4 separate regions of the Homo sapiens genome follow, and regions 1, 3 and 4 are each linked to region 2. The links are contacts of gene promoters, found by promoter capture Hi-C in human tissues and cell types (Jung and others, 2019). All regions are on one chromosome and are shown on one strand. Each heading gives the region's core, a stretch centred on a gene start or on the middle of the fragment in contact. The rest is flanking DNA. Distances are from core to core; before and after follow the strand shown.

The links. Contacts are between HindIII fragments. The study calls those that stand out against the background at their distance.
Region 1: a fragment that was not itself captured here is called in contact with the fragment with the promoter of WDR1 in region 2 in 1 of the 25 tissues and cell types used here (lymphoblastoid cells).
Region 3: a contact is called between a fragment that was not itself captured here and the fragment with the promoter of WDR1 in region 2, in 1 of the 25 tissues and cell types used here (lymphoblastoid cells).
Region 4: a fragment that was not itself captured here is called in contact with the fragment with the promoter of WDR1 in region 2 in 2 of the 25 tissues and cell types used here (lymphoblastoid cells and mesendoderm cells).

What each region holds. Positions count from the first base shown.
Region 1 is chr4:10,741,151-10,746,755 of GRCh38, forward strand. All of the region lies in intron 2 of LINC02498 (long intergenic non-protein coding RNA 2498), which reads left to right. Among named protein-coding and RNA genes, the nearest start is that of LINC02498, 6.4 kb to the left of the region's middle. The HindIII fragment of the contact is 4,925 bases long and covers 189-5,113 here.
Region 2 is chr4:10,113,733-10,119,577 of GRCh38, forward strand. WDR1 (WD repeat domain 1) reads right to left here and starts at 3,067. Exons shown (of 15, transcript NM_017491.5): 1 at 2,919-3,067; 2 at 2,381-2,502. The coding sequence starts at 2,934. It overlaps LOC124900666 (a long non-coding RNA gene), which reads left to right and starts at 3,357. Exons shown (of 2, transcript XR_007058030.1): 1 at 3,357-5,486; 2 at 5,595-5,745. It also overlaps the pseudogene RNA5SP155. RefSeq lists enhancers at 1-91, 1,924-2,728, 2,379-2,528, 4,299-4,398, 4,479-4,568 and silencers at 2,609-2,758, 2,839-3,248, 3,259-3,378. The HindIII fragment of the contact is 10,393 bases long and covers 1-4,128 here.
Region 3 is chr4:10,695,886-10,701,433 of GRCh38, forward strand. It overlaps a transcript of CLNK not described here. Among named protein-coding and RNA genes, the nearest start is that of CLNK, 14 kb to the left of the region's middle. The HindIII fragment of the contact is 6,731 bases long and covers 25-5,548 here.
Region 4 is chr4:10,855,328-10,861,215 of GRCh38, forward strand. No RefSeq gene overlaps it. Among named protein-coding and RNA genes, the nearest start is that of LINC02498, 120 kb to the left of the region's middle. The HindIII fragment of the contact is 3,705 bases long and covers 1,189-4,893 here.

The DNA of each region.
Region 1 (5,605 bases), core at 1,401-3,900, 630 kb after region 2:
ATTCCTCCTCTTTCTCTCCCAAGCTCTAAACACAGGTTTCCAGTTTAGGTGTTACAGAGGTATCAGTTTATTCCTTATAGACAAATTCTTAGGAGTTGCTAGAATTTGTTCATAAACCTGGGTGAAGTAAATTGGTTTTAAATATTTATACTGGAGTATGGTAATATTTAAAAAGAAATGCAGAATATTAGCATGCCCACTCCCAAGCCTCACCACTTCTTAACTATAACACGGCTAAGTTGCCCAACCTCTCCTGGTCTCGGGTTTCACAACTGTGAATCAAGATGCACCTGATTGTTTAAGTTCTTATGACCTAATCCAAAGAAAGTTTGTATCCAAGTGTCTAACATACGGTAAATGCTCAGAAGATGTCTGGTATTATTAAAATAAAATTTGAATTTGTCTTACCTGTTAAGGATCACTGACAGTGCTGCCCCTGATAGTTTTGTGTTTCATTGGTTTCCTGTATCTCACCTAGTCAAATATACTTCTTAAAAAATTCTGAATATTATCAGTGCCTATGATATGTATAGAACAGGAAGACATTTGGAACAGGAAATATGAGCATCATATCATGTATTTCATGTAGTGATGTAGTGTCCTCCGCAAACCCTCTGATTGCCACACAGTCAAAGTCTAAGCTTGCCAGCATGGCAACAAAGACGACTCCCAATCAACTGTCTTCAGCTTCAATTTCTGTTGCTTCTCTACACGAACATTCTCTACATGAGCTGGCCAAGAATACCTCTCCTCAAGCATCCCTGGTTACCTGCTCATGTACTCCTTCATTCTAGGAGCATTTGGCCAGAGTGATCTTTCTGAAATGGAAGACTCATGTATTGTTCCTGTGAGTCAGATGGGAAGCTGATGGAAAGTCTTCAGCAGAGAAAAATCCAAAGTGACTGCAATGATTTACGTGACTCTACAGATCCTGGCCCCTGTGGGTATCACCTCCCACCTCTCTACTCTTCACTGGCTGCACTCCAGCCATATTGGTTCCCTCACTTTCTTCACACTCAGTAAGAATGCTCTACCTCAGGGCCTTTGGATATTCTGTTTCCTCTCCCTGGAAATGCCTAATTCACTGGTTTTCACATGTCTCCCTGCTTTTTTCCTACTATGGGTGGCAGGTGGGATGTCACCTTCACAGAGAGGCTGTTTTCTGTGTGCACTTTATTACATAGCAACACATCCTTTGTCTGTTTCAGTTTCCTTATGCTGCTTTATTACTTTTTTCATAGCACATCTCTCCACTAGACAAGTCTGTCTTTATTTTTTTGTTGTTTGTTATGTAAGGTCCATGAGAACATGCAGTTTGTCTTATTTTATCTTCATTGCCCAGAATAGTACATTGGGTAGTATTAACCATTACCTCAGAATGACTGAACCCCCCACCAAGCTCTCTAGTGTTGTTCACAGTTTCCCCTTGTCTAGAGTTCCTTGTTACTGTGTTTAAATTTGGCTCAGCTTTTTTCAGCTTACTGAAATCTATCATCTCTTTGAATCCTTCAGTGAACATCCTGGTCTATAGTGATCATCTGTCCCCCTACATTTCTGGAGGAATAAAAAAATTTACTTGTCTATTATCATCTGTGACTTTGTATGTGCGAAAGAGGTTGTTGGTTAACTAAATATGTCCTGGGGTCAGATTGCCTGGGATCAAATCTTGGCTTAGCCATTTATAAGTTGAGTGACCTTGTGCAAGTGACATAGCTCACCTGCCATTCCTTCACCTGTCAGAGAGAATAGGACTAGTGCCCATTGCATTCATTTGCTGCATGACTTAAATGAGTTACATTCATCAAAGCATCATCCCTGGCACATGTAAGTGCTCAGTCAACGTTTGCACTGATTTTTATCACCTACATACATTGTGTCCTCAGCTAGATCAAAAGCTCTGTTCTATGTGCCATAACATCTGGCAGAGTCTTCCACACAGCAGGTGCTCAATAACTCTATTGACTTTTGGTAAAATTATTTCCCAAAAGAAATGTCAGAAGAAATGCTTAGAAAAATTATGCCAAAGCAATTATGTTTGTAAAGCTGTTTTGAGACTTAGAAAGGGTAAAGGAGAGTTTCAAAAGAAATTCCCTTTACATACTCAGTTGGAAAACATTTTCTAAGCATGCACTAAGGGCTAGCCATTGTGCTCCATGCTCTAGAGATGCAGTGATGAAAATGGCATGGGTCTTTTCTATAAGAGTTTGTGGGGACAAATATGTGAGTGAATGGCTGTAATAGACTGTGAAGAGGGCTGAAAGGGAGGTGTGTGCAAAGCATGATAGTGTCACAGCGGTCATTTATGGATGGGGGATGTACTGGATAGTTGCTTTTTCAGCTTGACTTTGGTAGCCTACATTTCTATTTCTGTGTGCTGCATGAACGATTTTGAAAATGAGAATGGTGTTAAGATTGAAAATGAAATAGGGTCCCCAGGGAATAAGAGCAGAAGTGGTTTGGGGAGAATATACCAAAACTGTGTAAAACAAGAAGCACAGATTGAACCAAAATTGTTTATTTCTTTAGGTTTCGCTATAACCTAGAAAAAAAACATTCTGAAAACAGCACATTGACTAAGACTTAAGATTTGTTGCCTTATTGTTCTAGCATGTTGTTAAGTAATACAATTGTTTCTGTCTTCAATGTTCTCTAATTGCAAGAATAATATGAAAATGGCATAAAACTGTAGGGTAACTGTCAGGGCCATGAAGAACAAAGCATGTTCAGGCCTCCAGGACCATGGTTTATGCCACCTGTTCTCGTCTGTCTGCTCCGACCCATTATTCTGATTTCTGTCTTATCTGACAATGTCTTTCAATGACAAACACAAAATTAAGATAGGTTGAAAATGTAATTCTAAGCATCACTTTTAAGAGATAAAAGAAAAAATAAGCATCTTTTACTTGAGAATTTACCTGTTCACAAGTAAATTGAGTTTTCTGTTAATCTTTGTACATGTGTGGCCGGTGTGCCTACTGTTAAATTGATACAAGATCAAGATATAAAATCAATTACATTTCTATATACTAGCAATAAACAATATGAAAAGTAAACTAATAAAACAATTCCATTTACCATAGCATTAAAAAAGATTAAAATATGAAGAAATTAATTTAACAAAAGAAGTGCAGTACTTATACATGAAACTATAAAACATTACTGAAAGAAGTTAAAGAAGAATCTTTAATTTAGGGAAATTAAAGAAAAATCTTTAATAAAGGGAAAGCTATTTTATGTTCATGCATCAGAAGACTTAATATTGCTAAAGTGGCAATACTCCCAAAATTGATCTACAGATTCAATAAAATCTCTATCAAAATCTCAGGTAATTTCTTTTGAAGAAATTAAGCTGATTATAAAATCTATATGGAAAATCAAGAAGCTCAGATTGGAAGAAAAAATTCTAAGTACAAACAAAGTTGGATAACTCACATGTTTTGATTTAAAAACTTACTATAATTCTATGGTAATCAAGATAGTGTGGTACCGGCATAAGAATGGAAACAGAATAATGGAATAGAATCAAGGATGCAAAAATAAACCCTTACATTTATCACAAAATTAAAAAATTATTCTTCAAAGGACACCAGCAAGAATGTGAAGAGGCAAACCACAAAATGAAAAAAATGTATTTGTAAATTATTTATCTAGTAAGGAATTTGTATTACATAAAAAAATTTTAACCCAACAATGAAAAGGCAAGTAACCCAATCAAAAAAATGAGCAAAGGATCTGAATCGACATTTCTCCAAATAAATATTAAGTATTTCTCCAAGGAGGATATACAACTGGCCAATAAACACACAAAAATAATACTCAAACATCATTACTCATTAGGGAGATGTATATCAAAATCACAATGAGCTACCACTTCACACTTATTAGGATGGTTAAAATAAAAAAGACAAGTACAAATAAGGATGTGGAGAAAATGTTAAGCAGAGTTATCACCTACAAATTCCATTTCTGGGTATAAAACACTTGGACATAAATGTTCATAGCAGCATTATTTGAATTAACCAAAAATGGAAACAACCCAAATGTTCATCAGTTAATGAACGGACAAACAAAATGTGATATATTCATACCAGGGAATGTTATAAAGTCATAAAAGTGAATGAAGTACCCATGCATGCTACAACATGAATGAACCTTGAAAACATGTAAAGTGAAAGAAGCCAGTCACAAAATATCACATATCATATGAGTGCATTTCTATGAAATGTCCGTAACAGGCAAATCTATAGTCAAGAGGTAGATTGGAGGTTGTTCAGAAGAAGAAGTTAGGGGAAATAGGGAGTGACTGCTAATTGGTATGCGAATTTTTAAGGAGAAATGAAATGTTTTAAAATAAAATAGTCATAATTGTTGCACAACTCTGAGTATACTAAAAATCACTGGATTGTACACTTTGACACAGTGAATTTTCTGACCTATAAATTGTACCTCAATGAAGCTGTTATTTCAAAACCCTACATAAATTGAGTTGAAAACAGTGGCAGCATTAGAATCCTAGAGTCCTAAGATCTGAATGAATCTTGAGCATGTTCTAGGACAATGATCTTCAGTTTGCTTGAATCCTCTCCTGAAAAATGTTTTCATCTGTGTTAGTCTCACACCAAACACAGAAATCATCACTATTCTTTCTCTGGATGAGTTTGTTTGCATGTTAGGAAGCTTAATAGCTGCTATTATCATTGTATTGTTACATTATATTTTTATAATACATTGCATTTTGTTGTGTTTATTATGACCTAGGCACAAAGTGCTTTATATCACTAAGTATTTAATAACTGTGTCATAAATTGGTTTTGAGGTTATGGTGGGCTCCATTTTACAGAAACAAAACTGAGGCACAGGAAGTAAAAAAAATTCAAAGTCACATAGCTCATAAAAGAACTTGAACTGTGTTTGACTTCACAGGCTACTTTTAACTAGTATTTCATATTGGCCTAAATCTAAACTAAAATGCCTCCTTGCAATTGCTAATCCTTTCTTCCTGACTCCTTCGTGTCACCTGTAGAAGTCTATTCACTTACAGGAAAATGTTTTCATATCCCCTTAAGTCTTCTACACATTGAGTATCTGGATTTACATCACTTCAGTCAAGGGTTTTCAAGTTATGGTCCTGAGACCTTTCCTACATTTGTCTGAAAGTGCGGTGTACAGAGGTCAAGAAACAAGATGCAATTACTCCCAGCTGTGGTGTCCGAGGCACCTTGAAAAGAACCTCTTGCTCCTTCCAAATAACCATAAAAGTTAGGCAACATTTTGCATATTTTACAAATGAAGCATTGAACACAGAGAGGCTGAGATCTTGTTCAAGATTACACAGCCATGAAGTAATGGACCCAAGATTTGAAACCACGTCTGGTTGTATTTGTTACTACTGACTTGAATTAGTTAATAGACTAGAAATTCCCCATTTCCTCAACATTGTAGACATACAAAATCAACTACATTAGCTGGAAGGATCCTACTGGAGAAGTAAAATCCTCCTAGCAGCTGGAGGCTGTAAATCTTAGGTCTGGAAGTTAGTGTGAGGCCAAGCTTATTAGTCATAATTAGAAGTCCTTAACATTTCAGAAAGGCTCTTTGTTTGTTG
Region 2 (5,845 bases), core at 1,817-4,316:
TGAAGATACTTTGAATGTGGAGTCAGAAGGATTTACTAAAATTAAAATGTGGCGCAGTAGCGAAGCAGAGAGTGAAACAGGAGTCCAAGGTTTGGGGCCTGAACAGCTGGAGGAACGGTGTTCCCTTTTAGGGGAAGAGCACGTGGGAAACACAAATTTGGCTTGGAGTATGTATGTTGAGTCTGAGATGTCAATGAGACATGTTAGATCTTCCATGATCTGGTCCTCCATTTCTTCCCTCTTCCCTCCCTGAGCCTGCATTCCAAACAGACCATCATCCTTCCTGAACGGTCATGCCAATTCATGTCACTTTTTTTTCCAAGAGTACTTTGCCCTAAAAAAAATCGTACCCACCTTTACTTGAGTACCCAGTCCACCCATCCAACTAACAAGAGACTCAGTGCCTGATCTACATCCAGCCCAGGGAGGGCTATATTAGTAGCATCTCGTGCTGACCTGGCATTGCAGAAACTTAAAAATAATTGAGAAGGGAAACAGGGTAACCCCTGAGAAGAAAATGGCAAACCACGGGGAAGGGGTAAGAATACAGAGCTCAGAAACAGGCAGAATGGGTTTCACAAGCTGGGAAATGCTTTCTGCAAAGGGGTGCCTGTCCCTGAATGACCACTCCATTAGAAGCAGCTCCAGTTACTGGCCTGCCTCACCTTGCTAAGTCTGACTCCTCTTTAGAGTAACGGACCCATGTGGGGTGGAAAGAGATGCTACAGTTTAAGAAGCTATCACAGGGCCAGATGCACAGCAGGTACTTTATGTGAGGCCCCCTCCCTGGAAGTCAATGTGGACTGCAACGACAGGGAAGGCCTGGTTAGGGGCAAAACGAAATATCCTACTGCTCTGTATCCGAGGACGTGTTAGTGGATTTTATTTGCCAAACTACTAAATATCTCTTTAGGGTTGTCTCAATTTTTATTTTCTCAAAAGCCTCAGGACCTGCCTTCGGAGACTTCCAGATCATTACCATTAGATCCCTGGTGATTTTCTCCAGTTCTAAGCAAGGCCCTTCGGCTTTCTAGGAATCTGTGTGACTAGCAAGTTGTTAGCACCTTCAAAGCACATTCACACCCGCCCACCCCCTCATTTGAGGGGCCCAGCAATCCAGGGCAGGTAGAGCTCTGTCTTCCAGCAGAGGAACAGCAGCGACTGCCTGGGTTAACGAGACAGATGCGGGCAGAGCCAGCAGCTCTTCGGACCAAGAGGCTTCTCCTTTCACAGAGAAGGAAACTGAGACCCAGAGACCCCTTCATTCCCTCAGCCAGTTGCTGGCCTCCTGGAGGGCAAGTGTGTCCGATCAACAGTCCCAACCTACCAAGGGAAATCAGGCTGACTTTAAGTTGACAACCCTTGTATGCCTATGGCATCAATCAAAACATACATCTTTGTGCCAGCCGCCCCCACTAAGCACAGCACAGGAGAAATCACCCAATGGCCGGGCCGGCACCTCCAACTCCCACCCCACCAATTCCATCACTCAGGCTGAGGAAGGGAAAAGCAAAATTTAAGCGTGTAACCCAGGAAGGGAGGGAGACTGACAGACTGGGTCACCCCAACAATTACAGAGGAATAACATGAATTTGCAAGGATTTCCCAAGGAGCTGGCTCTAGAAGCCTTTTCAGCCTGGGTACCGGAGGCTTGCAGAGAATGATTCATGGGAAAACACTGCTTCCTGTTTTTGCTTTGGGGCTTAGATCCATGGTGGCAGATCTGGCTGGCCCAGAGGCCCGGGTGTTTTTCCGGGCTCTGCCATACTGGAAGACCAGGGTATTAACAGCGAGTTAGCTGAGTGCCATTCCATTCAGCAAGGGCTCAAAGTGCACCAGGCACCGCTGGGCTTGAGGGACGCCAGCAGCTCATTCATTCCATCTGCCCAGCCAGCAGGCGAAGCGAGAGTGGTCATCATCTCATCATCTGTTTTACAGACGAGAAAACTGGGGCTCAGAGATGCCCAAATCGCCAATCTTCTCAAGGTCACGCAGCGGCCGACCGGGTCAGTCTGATCCCTCAAATCCGGAGCCCTTGCTTTTAAGGAATGAACTAATCTAATCTCCCATCCACGTACTAACCAGGCCTGACCGTGCTTAGCTTCCAAGATCAGAGGCGATCCGGCGCTTTCAGGGTGCTATGACCGTAGACAGAAACGAACTAAGACTCAGTTTCCTCATCAAGAAGGAGCAGACAAGGACCTGGGTGAATCTGAGGCCGGCTTCCGGGGCTCCGAGGTGTGGCTCCCGGTAGAGGGGGCGTGGCGCCCTCACCCTCCCCGGGCCAATGGGCAGGAGGTGAGAAGTGGAGAGGAAGGCGAATTATCCCATCCCAAGGTGGCTCCGGAGCAGAACCGCGCCCGGGGTAGGGGGTACTCACGTCGATGTTCCTTAGGATGACGCACTTTCCATTGGTGTACAGAAAATTGTTGCCCTTAGGGTCGCCGCCGATGATCTTGGAGACGCCCCTCTCCACCTGCGGGAGGCTGGCGAACACCTTCTCTGCGGAGACACAAATGCGGCGGGGCATGTCAGGGCAGGGCGGGGACGGCGGGGACAGAAGGGAGAAGGAGCCCCGGACCGGTCTCGGCCGGTCACCTGTTGACTGCGCCGGGAGGGCGGCCTCCACTTTCCACGAGCGCCAGGAACCGCGCGACTTCCTGGTCCGCGCCCCGGGCCAGGCCCTTGGGGGCAGCGGGGCTCCTCCGGCTCGGCCCACGGCGCCAACTTGGGGGCGCACCCCCCGTCGGGGGTCCCGCCCTGCACCACCGAGGGCGGCCCCGCCACGCCTCCGGCCGGCGCCCGCACCCCTCCCCCGCGCCGAGGACTCCCCCGCCACCCGCACGGCGCCTAGGGGCCGGGGACCGGGGCCGGGGCAGCGCGGCGGCCGCTCGGGGGCCCCGCGCCGCGGCACTTACTGATCTCGTACGGCATCCTCGCCCACTTGTTACCGCGCCGCGCTCGCCGAGAGCCTCCGGGGCCGGCCCGCGCTGCGAATTACACCTCGCCGAGGCCGAGCCCGGGGACTGGAGCCGGAAGGCGGCACCGGGCGTGCCGGGAGTGGAGTGGGCGGTCCGAGGCCGGGGCTCAGAGGCCAGCTCGCGCCTGCCCTGCGCGCTGTGGTTGCGGACGCCCCGAACCCGGAAGCGCGGTCCCGCGCGCGGCTCGCCCCCAGCTTTGACCATATATAGTCAAGCGCTCGGCTCGGCGGCTGCGGTCCCGGCGAGCCTGCGCGGACCTGGCGCTCCCCTCCCCCGCCGGCCCCGGCCCCGCCTCCGCCTTGCTCGCCCCGCCCCGGAAGTGACGTATAGCACGCCCCGCGGGCCCTTGAAAAGGCGGCGCAGACAAGCAGCCGCGTCAGAATGCTTCTGGGAGTCGGGGGGTGGGTGCCTTTCTGTTGCTAGCTTGTAGGAGAAGCTGGGCTGTAGGAAGTTTATTTGCGGGGGGGTCTTAAAGACGCTGAAAGTACTGGCGGGCTTTGGTGGGGGTCTGGAAAAACCTCTCTGTACCTGTGACCGCGTTGCGTGGCGGGCGCTCCCCGGCCTCTCCTTTTTGACCGGTCCCGGGCGTTGCCCAGCCGCCAGTCCTCCTGCTCGGGTTTTGTAAGCAGGAGAGGGATGCTTTTTACGTCTTCTTAAAGTACGGTTAAGTGCCCTTGCTTGAAGTAGTTGCTGGCAACAAGAACGTAGGGGTTACTCTTTGTTGGGCCTGAACTCGTGCTTTTTCTCTCAAAAGTTGAGCTTTTGAAAGGCAAAAAAGGCGTGGGGGATGGGGGAGCTGTCGGTCTTAAGGAAGTTAAAGGTTATTTCCTAAACAAAACAAGTCTCACTCCTAAAACCAGGGTAGTGGCTCAGTTGTGGCGGGAGAGCAGGGGCTGTAAAGTGTCCAAGTTTCTAGTCTCATCTTTCAGTAGGATGGGTACAAGCTTTCCCCTTGGGGCTCTGGGGGCTGGGAGGGTTGTAAAAGTGGGAGAAAGCAAAGTATTTGGCGGGGTGCGGGCGGGTAGCTGAATGTTGTTGTAAGTGGAAGAGGAATGCTGTTGGCGTCTTTCTCTAAGCACGGTTAAGTGCTTTTTCTTGAAGTAGTTACTGGCAACAAGAACGTAAGGGTTACTCTTTGTTAGGCCTGAACTCGTGCTTTTTCTCAAAAGTTTAGCTTTTGAAAGGCAAAAGTGGGGGTGGGGGCGCTGCTGCTTTTAAGGAAGTTAAAGGTTATTTCCTAAGAAAGCAAAACAAGCCCCACTTGTAAAACCCGGGTAGTGGCTCAGCTGGAGAGCAGGCGCTGTGAAGTGTACAAGTTTCTAGTCTCATCTTTCAGTAGAATGGGTACAAGCTTTCCCTCGGGGCTCTGGGGGTGGGAGGGTTGTAAAAGTGGGAGAAAGCAAAGTACGTGGGTGGGGGGTAGCTAAATGTTGTTGTAAGCGGGAGATGGATGCTTTTGGCGTCTTTAAGCACGGTTAACTGCCCTTGAAGTAGTTGCTGGCAACAACGTAGGGGTTACTCTGCTGGGCCTGAACTTGTGCTGTTTCTCTCTCTCAAAAGTTAAGGTTTTTAAAAGGCAAAGGCGTGGGGAGAGGGGTAGGGGAGCTGCTACTTCTAAGGACGTTAAGGGTTACTTCAGAGCAAAACAAGCCCCACTTCTAAAACCAGGGCAGTGGCTCAATTGTGGAAGGGAGAGCAGGGAATGTGAAGTGTCCAAGCTTCTAGTCTCGTCTTTCAGTAGCGTGGGTACAAGTTTTCCATTGGGGCTCTGGGGGCTAGGAGGGTGGTAAAAGTGGGAGAAACCAAAGTACTTGCGGGTAGCTAAAAACTCTGAAACCCACGCTGTGAGCGGTTCCTGCTTCTCTGAAAGGTCTGTTCTGCTTAAGGTTGTATCAAGGTTAGTCTCTTGCTACCTACTTCTGTAGAGCAGTCTCTCGTGGCTCACCTGGGTTAGTGGCCATGTTGCCTGTCTCCTATTCTTCCTAACCTTGTGTGTTCTCCAGGTAGCTGAGTGATCCATCCGAAGTAAAATATTCCTCAGCTTGTCTGTAGGGGCTCCAAGTTTCATGAAGTAAAAGCTAGTCTTGAAAACGGCCCATTAGGGTCCTGGATGACAGTCTCCGGGTCACTTAGACTCCGTTGTCCGCCTCCCCTCATCTGTATCATCTTTGCCTTGGGTACTGGCTTCGGAGGGTGTTTTCCTGAAACTCTTACCTGAGATCTACTTGGCTGACTCCTGTGTCCTTCAGAAGTACTTAATTGCTCAAATGTTAGTTGATGAGTGTCACCGGTCTCATTTTAAATTGCAACTTCAACCCCTTGCAAACACTGCTTCTCATTCCCGCGTTCCCTAACTTTAACTCTCAGGAATAACCCTGACACCTGGAAGATGCTCCTAGGGATGACCCCACTCCCCACCCACAACTGTTAATCAGGAAATAACGGATATGAAAGTAGCTCTGCGAACTGAGGAGCCGTGGAGAATGTACAAAACAGATTCCTAAAGTAAGATACGCAGGCCCGGCTTGTAGGCCGCTGCATCTGCTTTGATAACTTAGAACTCATCAAATCACCTTGAGACCCTTAAAACAAATGGTATAATTGCATTCACAGGTAGTGCATTCGTGTAACAAGATTAAGAAAACGAAGGACCAACTTCAAGCTCTTGCAAGCTGGTAACCTTTACACTCGTGCATAAAGCCTTGCTGGAGTTGACACTGAAAACTAAACAGTCGAACTTGAGTAAAACATATCCAAACTCCCAGCTGCTGGGCTCTACAGCTTATTTTTAGCTTGAAAGTTACATGTTGGAGCTGCAGAGGCTTTATGGTGGTGGTGGGGGAGCTGTTTGTTCGTAGTCACTT
Region 3 (5,548 bases), core at 2,140-4,639, 580 kb after region 2:
TGCTCTGTTGCCCAGGCTGGAGTGCACTGGTGTGATCTTTGCTCACTGCAACCTCTGCCTCCCGGGTTCAAGCAACTCTCCTGCCTCAGCCTCCCGAGTAGCTGGGATTACAGGTGCCTACCACCCTGCCTGGTAAATTTTTGTATTTTTAGTAGAGATGGGGTTTCACCCTGTTGGCCGGGCTAGTCTCAAACTCCTGACCTCAGTTGATCCACCCACCTCGGCCTCCCAAAGTGCTGGGATTATAGGCTTGAGCCACTGCACCCAGCCCAGAGCTTCTTATCTAAGTAGATGGCGTGAGGATGAGGTTGAGTCTGGAATCTGTATCAGATGGGTCTCGTGTGCCACCACAGGTCTTTTTTGGCCTTGCCGTTCTTTGGTCCTAGGTCATCTGTTTAGACCTAGCTCTGGCTACAGACACACTCAACATGGGCTTCATCTGCCCCCTTTGCTGCATCTGCTCCATGTCTACTTTGCAACCTGCCAGCACCCAGCCTGATGTCTACGCCTTAAGCTTCCTGCTGCAGCACTGAGCAACCCAATTGCTGCTAAGGCATGAGATGCTTTAGGGCTTGCTTGCGGCTCATGCACCAACCACACGGCAGTCTAGGGGAGCTGAAACTCTGTGGGTTTTAACATTGGAAGATGTAAGCTGGCAATAAACTCTTTGCCCTTTTGTCCTCCAGAGAAACTCCTCAGGACACAGTGGGCTGTAAGGGCTGTAGGAGAAGAGCACCACAAGAAAGTGAAATGGAACACTCCTTGGGCATGATACAAAGCACTCAATAGCCGAAAGTCTTCTCCTCCTGTTGGCTCTCCTTCCCAGCCTGCCACTTTCCCATTTGCCCTCATTCCAGCCTCCCTAGGATTGCCTTCTCAAATGAAGTAGTCAATCATAAATGCTTTAGGTTCTGTTTTCTGGGAAACCCATGTCAAGGCAAGCTCCCTCTAAGATTGAGTTTACAGTGTTCTCTCTGGATCAATCAGGATATTTGTTAAAAATGCAGATTCCAGGGCCCTTCCCCAGATCACTGATTAAAATCTTTGGATTTCAAATGCAGGACTGTGCATTCTAAACAAATTCTCCTGGTGATTCTTATGCACATTATAGTCTGAGAACATGCAGTCTAGATAATCAATTTTTGGTGTCCTCTTTCTTGGAACAATTGAAAGATCTCCAGCTATGAATAGCAAACCCAACTGTCACCCCTCAACCTTTCTACATTTTCTGCCACAGGTGAATGGTTCCAGACACTCATGATTGCAAAATAAATATTAAAATCCCTTCATAAAAGTCAGTTGTGCACCTGGACTCAGGGTTACCATGGAGATTCAAGGCAGCAATCTCACTGACACTGGATCCGTGCCTTCTCTCACCCCAAAGTTACCTATGAGGAATTCCTGAGTTTTACTGTGGTTCATTTAACATCCGGAGTTCAGAGACATGAATACTTGAGCAGGCCGGGGCTTCGTGAGAACTAAAGCAATGTTAGAAGAGCCCGCATGACTGCCTTAATGAGGAAGACTCTGCTGGAACTGGGGTCAGGGTCTCCAGGAAATTCCAGTCCATCATCTCCCTTGGTGAGCAAAAGAAGCCACTGGTGGTCCTTGCAAGTAGAAGTGCAATGAAAACAGGATTATGGCGATGGATGACAGTGTGAGAGAGAAAAGAATTATCACCTTCTTCCCCTTTCCCAAATAATTCATTCTCTAAGTTCAGCAGTCCAACAAGAATGGCTTCTCATGCCAGAGTAGACTCTTCTTGTATTTAGGACGGCCACTGGGTGTGTAGAGAATAAATTTGCTTTTAATTTTCTGTCTGCTAGCTCCTCCTTGGTGAAGCTGCCTACTGGTTCCCAAACCTAAATTGGCTCTTCACTCTCCTGGGAACATTGAACTGTAACCAATCCTTCTACATTTTGATCTACTCATTCGAACAATAGCCACCTTGCCTTTGCTTTTTTGAATTGTGAGAATAAAACGAGGCTCATCAAAGAATCATGACATATAATATGAATCCAAGAAATTGTAGATACTAATCTTCATCCTCTCCATCATCATGATCATCAAACAGAACCATGAAGACCAGAACAGGATATATGTCTATGGAAGTGCTGACCGTTTTGTGTTAATTTCTGTAACATAAGTAGGTATGTGGGGGTAAAAGCTGCAATAAGCAGATTGTAGTTCGGAATTAAGACCTTTATGAGAGGTGAACATCCATGAACTATTAACTCAGGAGGTGGTTTGTAAATTCCTTGTCTATATAGTCATGTGTCTGTAAATTGGAAGCCTCTGGTGGTGAGAGTGGTGTCATTGGTGGTGGTGATTTTACACTAGATAACATTAAAGACAATTTTCAAACTAGCAATTATAGGGTTTTATTAAACATTATTCTTAATACATTTATAAACATGGTTAAGTTTACAGGAACACTCTGAGGGCAAGGTCCATACTATAGTTGAATCTTTGACCCTTGTACCTGGTGAAATACCCATGCCATTATTACGCCCTTAGTAAATGTTAATTGCTAAGTGAGTACATAAATAAATAAATGGGTGACTACTGGAATAATAAAATGTGACAATATATATAAAACAGGTTTGTTCATATTTCTGAAAATCTGTGAAGCTAATTTTGTTCTTGGTGCTCTCTGCTTTTTCCTTTCATGCTCAGATCCACCTGTCCCTTCTGTCTCTTGATAGAGCTCCTTCCAAAATTCTCACATTTCTCAGATATTTTCACCCCCCAACCAAAATCTTCAAGGAAAGGTCAGGGAACATCTTTCAACTTAAGTAGTGAAAGAGCTCTTGTGAACCCTAATTGCAGCAGTTAGTTTTATGTGTCAACTTGACTGGGCCATGAGGTGCCCAGATATTGGGCCAAACTATATTCTGGGGATTACTGTGCAGGTGTTTCTGAATGAGATTAACATGTGAGTGAGTAAAGCAGATTGCTCTCCCTGCTGCAGGTGGGTAGGTCTCATCTGATCGACTGAACACCTAAACAGAACAAGATGGCTGAGTAGGAGGGAACTCTTTTTGTCATGGCGGCTTGAGTGGGGACATTGGTCTTTTCCAGCCTTCAGACTCAGACTTAAAGTTGACTCTTTCTTGGTCTCAAGGGTGCCAACTTTTGAACTAGCACTTACACCATTGGCTTTCCCAGTTTTCATACCTTTGAACACACACTGGAACTACACGTCAGGTTTCCTGGGTCTCTAGCTTGCTGATGGCAGATCCTAGAACTTTCTCAGCCTCCATGATCGTATGAGCCAATTCCTTACGTTTCTTTCTCTCTCTCTCTGTCTCTTAAACACACACATACACACCACATATGTGTGTGTATACACACACATACACACCACGTATGTGTGTATACACACACACACACCACATACGTGTATACACACACACACCACATACGTGTATACACACACACCACATACGTGTGTGTATACACACACACACACACAGTCATCCTTCCTATTTGTGAGGATTGGATATAAAAACCCATGGATGTTCAAGTCCCTTACATAAAATGACATTGTATTTGTATATAACCTATGTACATCCTCTCTGTCTCTCTCTCTCTCTCTCTCTCTCTCTCTATATATATATATATATATTTTTTTTTTTTTTTTTCTGAGACGGTTTTGCTCTTGTTGCCCAGGCTGGAGCACAGTGGCACCATGTCAGCTCACTGAAACTTCCACCTCCCAGGTTCAAGCAATTGTCCTGCCTCAGCCTCCAAAGTAGCTGGGATTACAGCTGCCTGCCACCACACCCTGCTAATTTTTGTATTTTTTAGTAGAGATAGGGTTTCACCATGTGGGCCAGGCTGCTCTTGAACTCCTGACCTCAGATGATCCATCCGCCTCAGCCTCCCAAAGTGCTAGAATTATAGGCATGAGCCACGGCACCCCGCCACTCCATATATTTTAAATCAGCTCTAGATTACTTATAATACTTAATACAATATCAATGCTATGTACATAGTTCTTATACTGTATTTTTATTGGTATTATTTTTCATTGTTGTACTGTTATTTTCCTCTAATATTTTTTAATCTGTGGTTGGTTGAAACTTGTGGATATAAAGGACTGACTGTGTGTGCATATGTGTGTGTGTGTGTGTGTGTGTATATATATATTTCCTATTGGCTCTGTTTGTGTGGAGAACCCTGATACACTCATGAAGTTTTTGCATTTCAATAGAAATCAGAGAAGAAACAGGTTTCACAAAGGGAAGAATGGCTAGCTATGGAATAAGGCATAATGAGATGAAGAAGATGCTGACTTTGGGGGTAAAGAAACTGAGAATTACAATTAGGATAAATGAAATAGGCTACATAGTACATCCAATATTAGAATTATTCAGTAAATGCTTTGGGAGCGATATGATTATTTTACAAGAAACTGAAGGTCATTGTGGTTACAACAATAGCTAGCAGGAGGAACGTGAACCTTGGAATCAAAGCCTGTCTAACTCCAAAGCCAAATATATATCCAGGCTGACTTTACAGAGATGTTGGAATTATTTATTATTTTGCAAGACAGACTTAGGTGGGTTGTTATTATACATTCACAGGGGTTCACAGTTTCCAAAAATCTTTACCTCATTCAAATCTCAGAACCCAACTTGTGATGTAGGTGACATTTATAATTTTACAGATAAGGCAGATAAGGAAACTCAACACATAGAAAAGAGAAGGATTTCTTAGTTATGCAGCTCAAATGCAGTGGTCGTGCTGGAGCTCAGGCCTCAGGACTCTAAGCCACGTGACCCTTTATTTGGTGCAGGTGGGTCGTAAAGGAGTTTACATTCTTCTGTAAGCTGCTAACAAGCATGGGTGGGGAAAATTACCTATAAAAATCCCTATGTCTTTCATACAATGAAAGAAACATGGTTTTGTGTAAACAATGGCAAACTAATACACAAGTGCCGTTGTGAAATGACAATATTGATTATATATATGTACATCTTATACATGTACAAAATGATGCACATATAATTACACAGATGTTTTGTATTCAAAAATAAAATTAGTCAACTGTTTCACTGCTTGAAACATTTCAGCAAATTGTTACGACTAAATTGCTGGAAAATCGTGATCACCGTCTGCACCCGTAAAAGCTTTTACCAGCTCTCTAACTTTTGCTTAGTCAAATATCTCTAAGCCCTCAACTTCTTCTTCCAATTCTTCCATAAAGATGTCCATGGAGCTATCACCATCCAACCTTCCTAGCCATGAATGAGATATAGCTGTTTCATTTGTTTGTCAATATTTTGACAAGGAAATACTTAAACTCATGCTACAGATTTTGCAAGCAGACATTGTCAATTTCAGGCTTGGTTGCATCTATTGCCTGTGAATGTAAAATGAAATCTCCCGCTTAAAAGTATTGTCTTCCTTGCCTCTCTCTTAGCCAGTGTGGTTGAAGGTCCCCCATGAAACATATGTGTCCTGACCCCCCTTTATCAGACTGTGTGTGCGAGACCACAGCTGAAAGCCAGCATTATTTGCTGCTACTGCAAACCTTCACTGA
Region 4 (5,888 bases), core at 1,791-4,290, 740 kb after region 2:
AAATTCAGAATACATCTTTATTAGCTTTGCCCAAAGAAATAGCCAAGGACATGTGCCCCACACCACCCCACCACAATTATTCACAGCATCACTCAGATTCTTGTCTATTCAATTCTATTTTCCCATTATGAGAAACCATGGTGCCTTGAAAATAAGTAGCTGATTCTTTGTCTGGGTTGAAAGGGGAAAAGTGAGCCTATATAATTATGTTGTGCCAGAAAGCAAAAATATGTCACAAATAATGCAGTCACATTGAAATAATCTAATTTGCAATGATCTAAGCATAATTTGAAGGGAGCTTCTATTGGCCAAGATGAGGCAATTGGGCCTCAAAAGATTATTGACAAAGATCAATGATATACAGTAAATCTGAAAAGGCATAAATCCATAATGACATACCAAAGGAGAAAACATTGGCATAAAGATATCTAAGTGAAGGTCAGTAGAATATGAAAGTAATATTTTTGGTCTTGCTATTCAAAACAGGTTGGTATTATTGACTTATTTATTGTGTCAATAAAAAATACAGAAACTAGTAAATGTAAATTTATTACTTAGCAACTTTTTTTTTTTCTGATTCATTGGGAAAGTCAGTAGAACAGTCCTATAAATTGGTATCCCTAATCAGATAAAGGCACATAAAATATGAAAAACTCACATGAAAGAATTCCAAGTATTTTGTAAACATTGTGTTATCTCCTACCAAGTTTAAATATCTAGAATCAAAAGAAGAACAATGTTTATATTTATGAGTATATAAAATCTTGGGTGAAAGCTGCAGCTTTTTATTAGTAGAAAGAATGATTAGATAATCTGCTGAACTTGAATTTAGGAAAACACTGTTCTCTTAAAATTATGAAATTTGATATAATAACCATAAAATAGCTTCCAAATCAAAGTATCTATTTGTAGAGAATGTCATTATTTTTTAAAAGGGTTGAAGAAGCTTGAGGTCTTTGCAGTTGTGCTAATCAAGATGTGGAGTACAGGTTTCAAGGACTATGAATTCAGCCTGTGATGATTTCAATGCTTTCTCAGCTATTCTTTCTAGCATCTGTCTCTACACACTGTTGTCATTCTCAAAGGCCCACTTCTATTCCAAATTCCTTTTCAGTCTAACTATGAGTTTCCAGGCCAACACTGGACTCTACAATAATCCAGCTGGGTCACTGGGTGTATCTGTGCAAAGGGATTTAGAGAAAGAACTGCTTCACACTCAGAGAGACTTTGCCTTGTGAGTTTTCTCATTGACCTCTGTGGGATACACATAATTCATTGAATGTTAATGCTGCACTATGATGCAAGAATCCTCAAACAAGCCACAGACATGTCAAAATAGCCACCAAAGCAATGTGAGTATGACTCTTCTGTGAGCAGAAGATATCACTTAAATGCTAGAAAAAAATCCCAAATTTTACCCCAATGGGGAAGCTTTATCCTAGAGGAGAAAATGGAAGTTACCCTATGTTGCCCACAACTGAGTGAATAAAGACCACAAGTGAGTCCTGAATAGCTACGTGGGAGCAGAAAAATAGCTCGAGGACTATTGATGTGAAATGAAAAATCACTAATTCTAAGATTTCTAGGCCTTTAATGTGTTTACCAATTATGTCTACTCTATTAAAGTCATCTCTGTGAAATACTTATGAATAAATACTGTGACTCTTTTTTTTCCAAATGTGTATCTGCATCACCTTTCAGATACACATATAATTTCAGATATACATATAATTTATGTTTTTACTATAATTTCTTTGTTTTCAAATTGTAACATTAAAAATATCTTCAGACAGTATATTTTAACTTCTTTACTATTTTTCCCCATGGCCTCTTTTCAAAATATGTACTTGAACAGATTTTCAAATGTGTCTTGCAAGCCTTTTGAAGGTTATTTATTAATGAGTTCAACATCCTTGGCCCCCTGTGGGTCCCAAAACTATACCTGAAAAAATGGGAGCTGAGCTATCTTCTGTTATAATCAATTACAAAATAAACCTATAAAATTGATGAGTTAGAAACAGAGAGTGAGATGAGCATCTGGCTATGGCTATCGGATGCTCTCATTTTCTGAAATTTTTAGAGAAATAAATGATGAAAGAAAACATATTTTAAAAGTTGTAAGTTTGTTTGCTATAAAATCCTTTCTAAGACTGTCTTTTTTCATGACTTTAATTTTTACTAGCATGTCAGTAATTGCTCACCAATTTACACACATACACATACACAACTCGGCTAGTAATTATATCAAAATTCTAGATCAATTTGAAGAGAATCTTCACATGTTATAGTTCTCAATTTATTTAGATCTGTACTTTCTCTATAGGTATCTTGTGAATTATGCACATACATATACACATGATTGTATAAATTATGTATATGTAATCTATGTATAGTTCTATACATATGTATAATTATAATTGGTACTTACATTTCATTTTCTAATTGCTGTTAAAGTAGAAATGTGATTGACTTTCATATATTAACTTTGTATCCAGTGAACTTGTTAAATTCACTTGTTTGATTTAATACATCAGAGCTTTTTAATTTTTATGTTTTTAATAACTATAGGCAAATATAGTGTGAGTGATGATAGTTTTATTTCTGACTTTCCAATTCTATTAATTTTCTTGCCTTATTGCACTGGCTACCACTTCCAGAAGAATGCCAATTAGAAGTAGTCTTCTATTGCCTGAGTCTTGATCTCAGGAGGAAAGTTTATAATGTTTTGCCATTAAGAGTCAATGTATGTGTTTCTATAGGTGTTTGTTTGTTTTTATTTTTAATATCATTTATCCACTTAGGAAAGTTCACTTCTATTTCTAGTTTGCTTAAGGTCTTGCTTTGCTTAAATACCGGTTAGACATTAATTTTATCAACTTTGTTATGCAACTAAAAACAATCACATGAACTTGTTTTCTATTTCTTTTTGGGTTAGTTTTAGTAAGTTGCATTTGTTAATTAAGTTTTCATTATTATCTAAATTTTCCAATAATGGCATAGAGTTGTTCATAATAACTTCCTCATTTAACATATGTTAGAGCTGTAGTGATTACCCCTCTAGTATTGGTAATTTATGATTCATCTCTTTTTAATCTTGATCAGCTTTGCTAGGAAATTACTGGTTTTATTATTTATTTCAACAAATTGACCTCTGGCTTTGTTGATTCTCTACATTTTATATTTATTTGCATAATGCTATTGTTTTGATGTGATTCGTCCCAGCCAAAACTCATATTGAATTTCATCTCAATGTAGCAGTATTGGAAATGAAGTCTGGAAGGAAGTCTTTGGCTCATGGTGGTAGATCCCTCATACGTAGATTAATGCACTGGGGGTGAATGAAATCTTGCTGTAGTGGAAATGGATTAGTCTGGCTAGTGGTCTATCTATTTTACCAAGAGTCTGGGTTCCTTATTTGCCCTCTCTTGCTTCCACTCTCATCATGTGAATTTTTTTTTCACACACTGGCCCCCCTTCCACTTTCTGCTATGAGAGGAAGCAGCCTGAGGTCCTCACCATATACAGTTGCACAGTTTTGAAGTTTTCAGCCACCAGAATTGTTAGCCAAATAAACCTATTTTCTTTATAAATTATCCAGCCTTGGGCATTCTGTTATAACAACACTAAATGGACTAAGACACCTTTTATTCTATTCTGCTTATTTTTTCCTGCTTTGAGCTCATTTGACATTCTTTTAATATCTTTAAAAACACATCTAGGCCATGAATTTTTAATCTTTAAAAAAAAACATATATACTTAGGCCTAGAAATCTTAACTACAGTGTAACCTCATCCAGTGAGATAATTTTTAGTTACATCTTTTTTTTATTGTTTTATTCTTTGGAGACAGGTTCTCATTTTCTCATTTAGGCTGGACTGCAGTGGCACAATCATAGCTCACTGTAACGTGGAACTCCAGGGCTCACATAATCCTTCTACCTCAGCCTCCTGAGTAGCTGGGAATACAGATGTGCATCATCATGCCTGGTAATTTGTTTACTTTTTGTTGAGACAAGGTTTAGCTATATTGCCCAGGAGTGGTCTCAAACTCCTGGCCTCAAGTGATCCTCCTGCCTTGGCCTCTCAAAGTGCTGAGATTATATTTACATTTATTTATGTTTTATTTACTTTAAAATGCCTTCTAATTTTTATTGACCTATTGTTAATTTAGAAGTTTTTGCTTACTTTCAAAGTTAAAATATAGTTATCCTTATGTTGTTAATTTCAAGCTTAATTCTCCATGATCGGAACATACTTTGATTTAGTTCCATGTCCAAAAAAAATATTCTGTAGATGTTGGTTATAGTCTTCTATAAGTGTTAAGTAGGCAGAATTTTTAAATTTTATTTTTAATCTTCAACATCCTTTCTTATTTTTTATCTGATTTTATCAATGCCTTATTCTATCAGTGACTGAGAAGAGTGTGCCAAGATTCCCTTGATGATGGAACATTTGTATTTTCCTCTTTTTATATTTGTCAATATTTGTGATAGATGTTTTTAGTCTATTTCATTAAAGGAAAAACAGTTCTATATAATTCTAATAAGTTGATGCTTTTAAAATAATAAAGTATCCCTCTTTCTATCAACTTTCTAGTTAAACATCATGATTTTGGTATTTTAAATAAAATATTAAACTTCTTGATATTTATAATGAATATAATTAACTATAATATTCTGATATTCTAGTATTTGTCAGATTTATTTTGCTTAGTGATTCTATGGCATATTTCTTTATATTCTTTTATTTCTAATTTCTTAATATCTTTATATTTAGAGTCTGTCTATTTTAAGTTACAAAGGGTTTTGTTTGTTCTTTGTTATGCAGTATGTCAATTTCTGTTTTTAATTAGACGATTTTATCCATTTATATATGTCACATCTTTGTTTTTTGATTGACTTAATTTTTAAAACAATGTTATATTAACAGAAAAATGATGAGATACCATATAGAGTTTCTATATGTACCTCACATCTAGTTTCCCATATTATTAACATCATACATTGTATGGTAATTTGTTACAATTAATAAACAAATACTGATACATCATTATAAACTAAATGTTATATTCAGATTTCTTTAGCTTTTACTTAATGTATTTTCCTGTCCAAGAATCCCATGCTAAATTTAATTATTATATCTCTTTAGCCTCCTCTTGGAGGTTGGAATTTAGTCTTTGTGAAGTCTGCTTCATTGTGCTAGATTCAGCCATTTGGAATTCTAGCTAAAAGTCATTAAAAAAAAAAAAAAAAAAACTCAAGATGTATTCCAGGACTCTCTTATAGTCCCATCAGAATTCTGGAAGCTATTCTCTTCTTGTGAGCCTGTCAGCTGCTCTTGAGACATGAAAACATCCATTGAGGTAAAGTAGTGCCAAATATTGTAGTCACCTCTGTCAACTCTGGGCCTCCAAGTACTTGCCACTTTAATAGCTCTCTATTATCTTTGGTAGATTTTCTTTAAAAAATATTTTTTCAGCATTTCTTCATTCTGCACTGAAAATTTTATCTGCAAAAACTATTCTACCTTGACCATAATGGGTAAAGGCAATTAAAAAGCTTTTGCTCCATGTTTCAAACTAGCTTTCCGGAAACATACCAATTTGCATTCTTGCCAAAAGTTTATAGCAGTAACTATGTCTTCAAACACCACAGCAATATCTATCACTAGTAATGTTGAAGCTTAAGAAAATGAAAAAGATTAGGATTCATTTCTTTATTAGTTTATCCAATACATATTATTGAGCTCTTACTGTAGAGCTGACTTTGTCTCTTTCCTCTTACTTTCAAGAGGCTTCTAGACCCGTCCTTCTCTCCAGAAACGTACAAGCTGCTGGTAAGACATTACCTCAGAAAAAAAGACATGTTTGTCATATTTCCTTAAAAGAA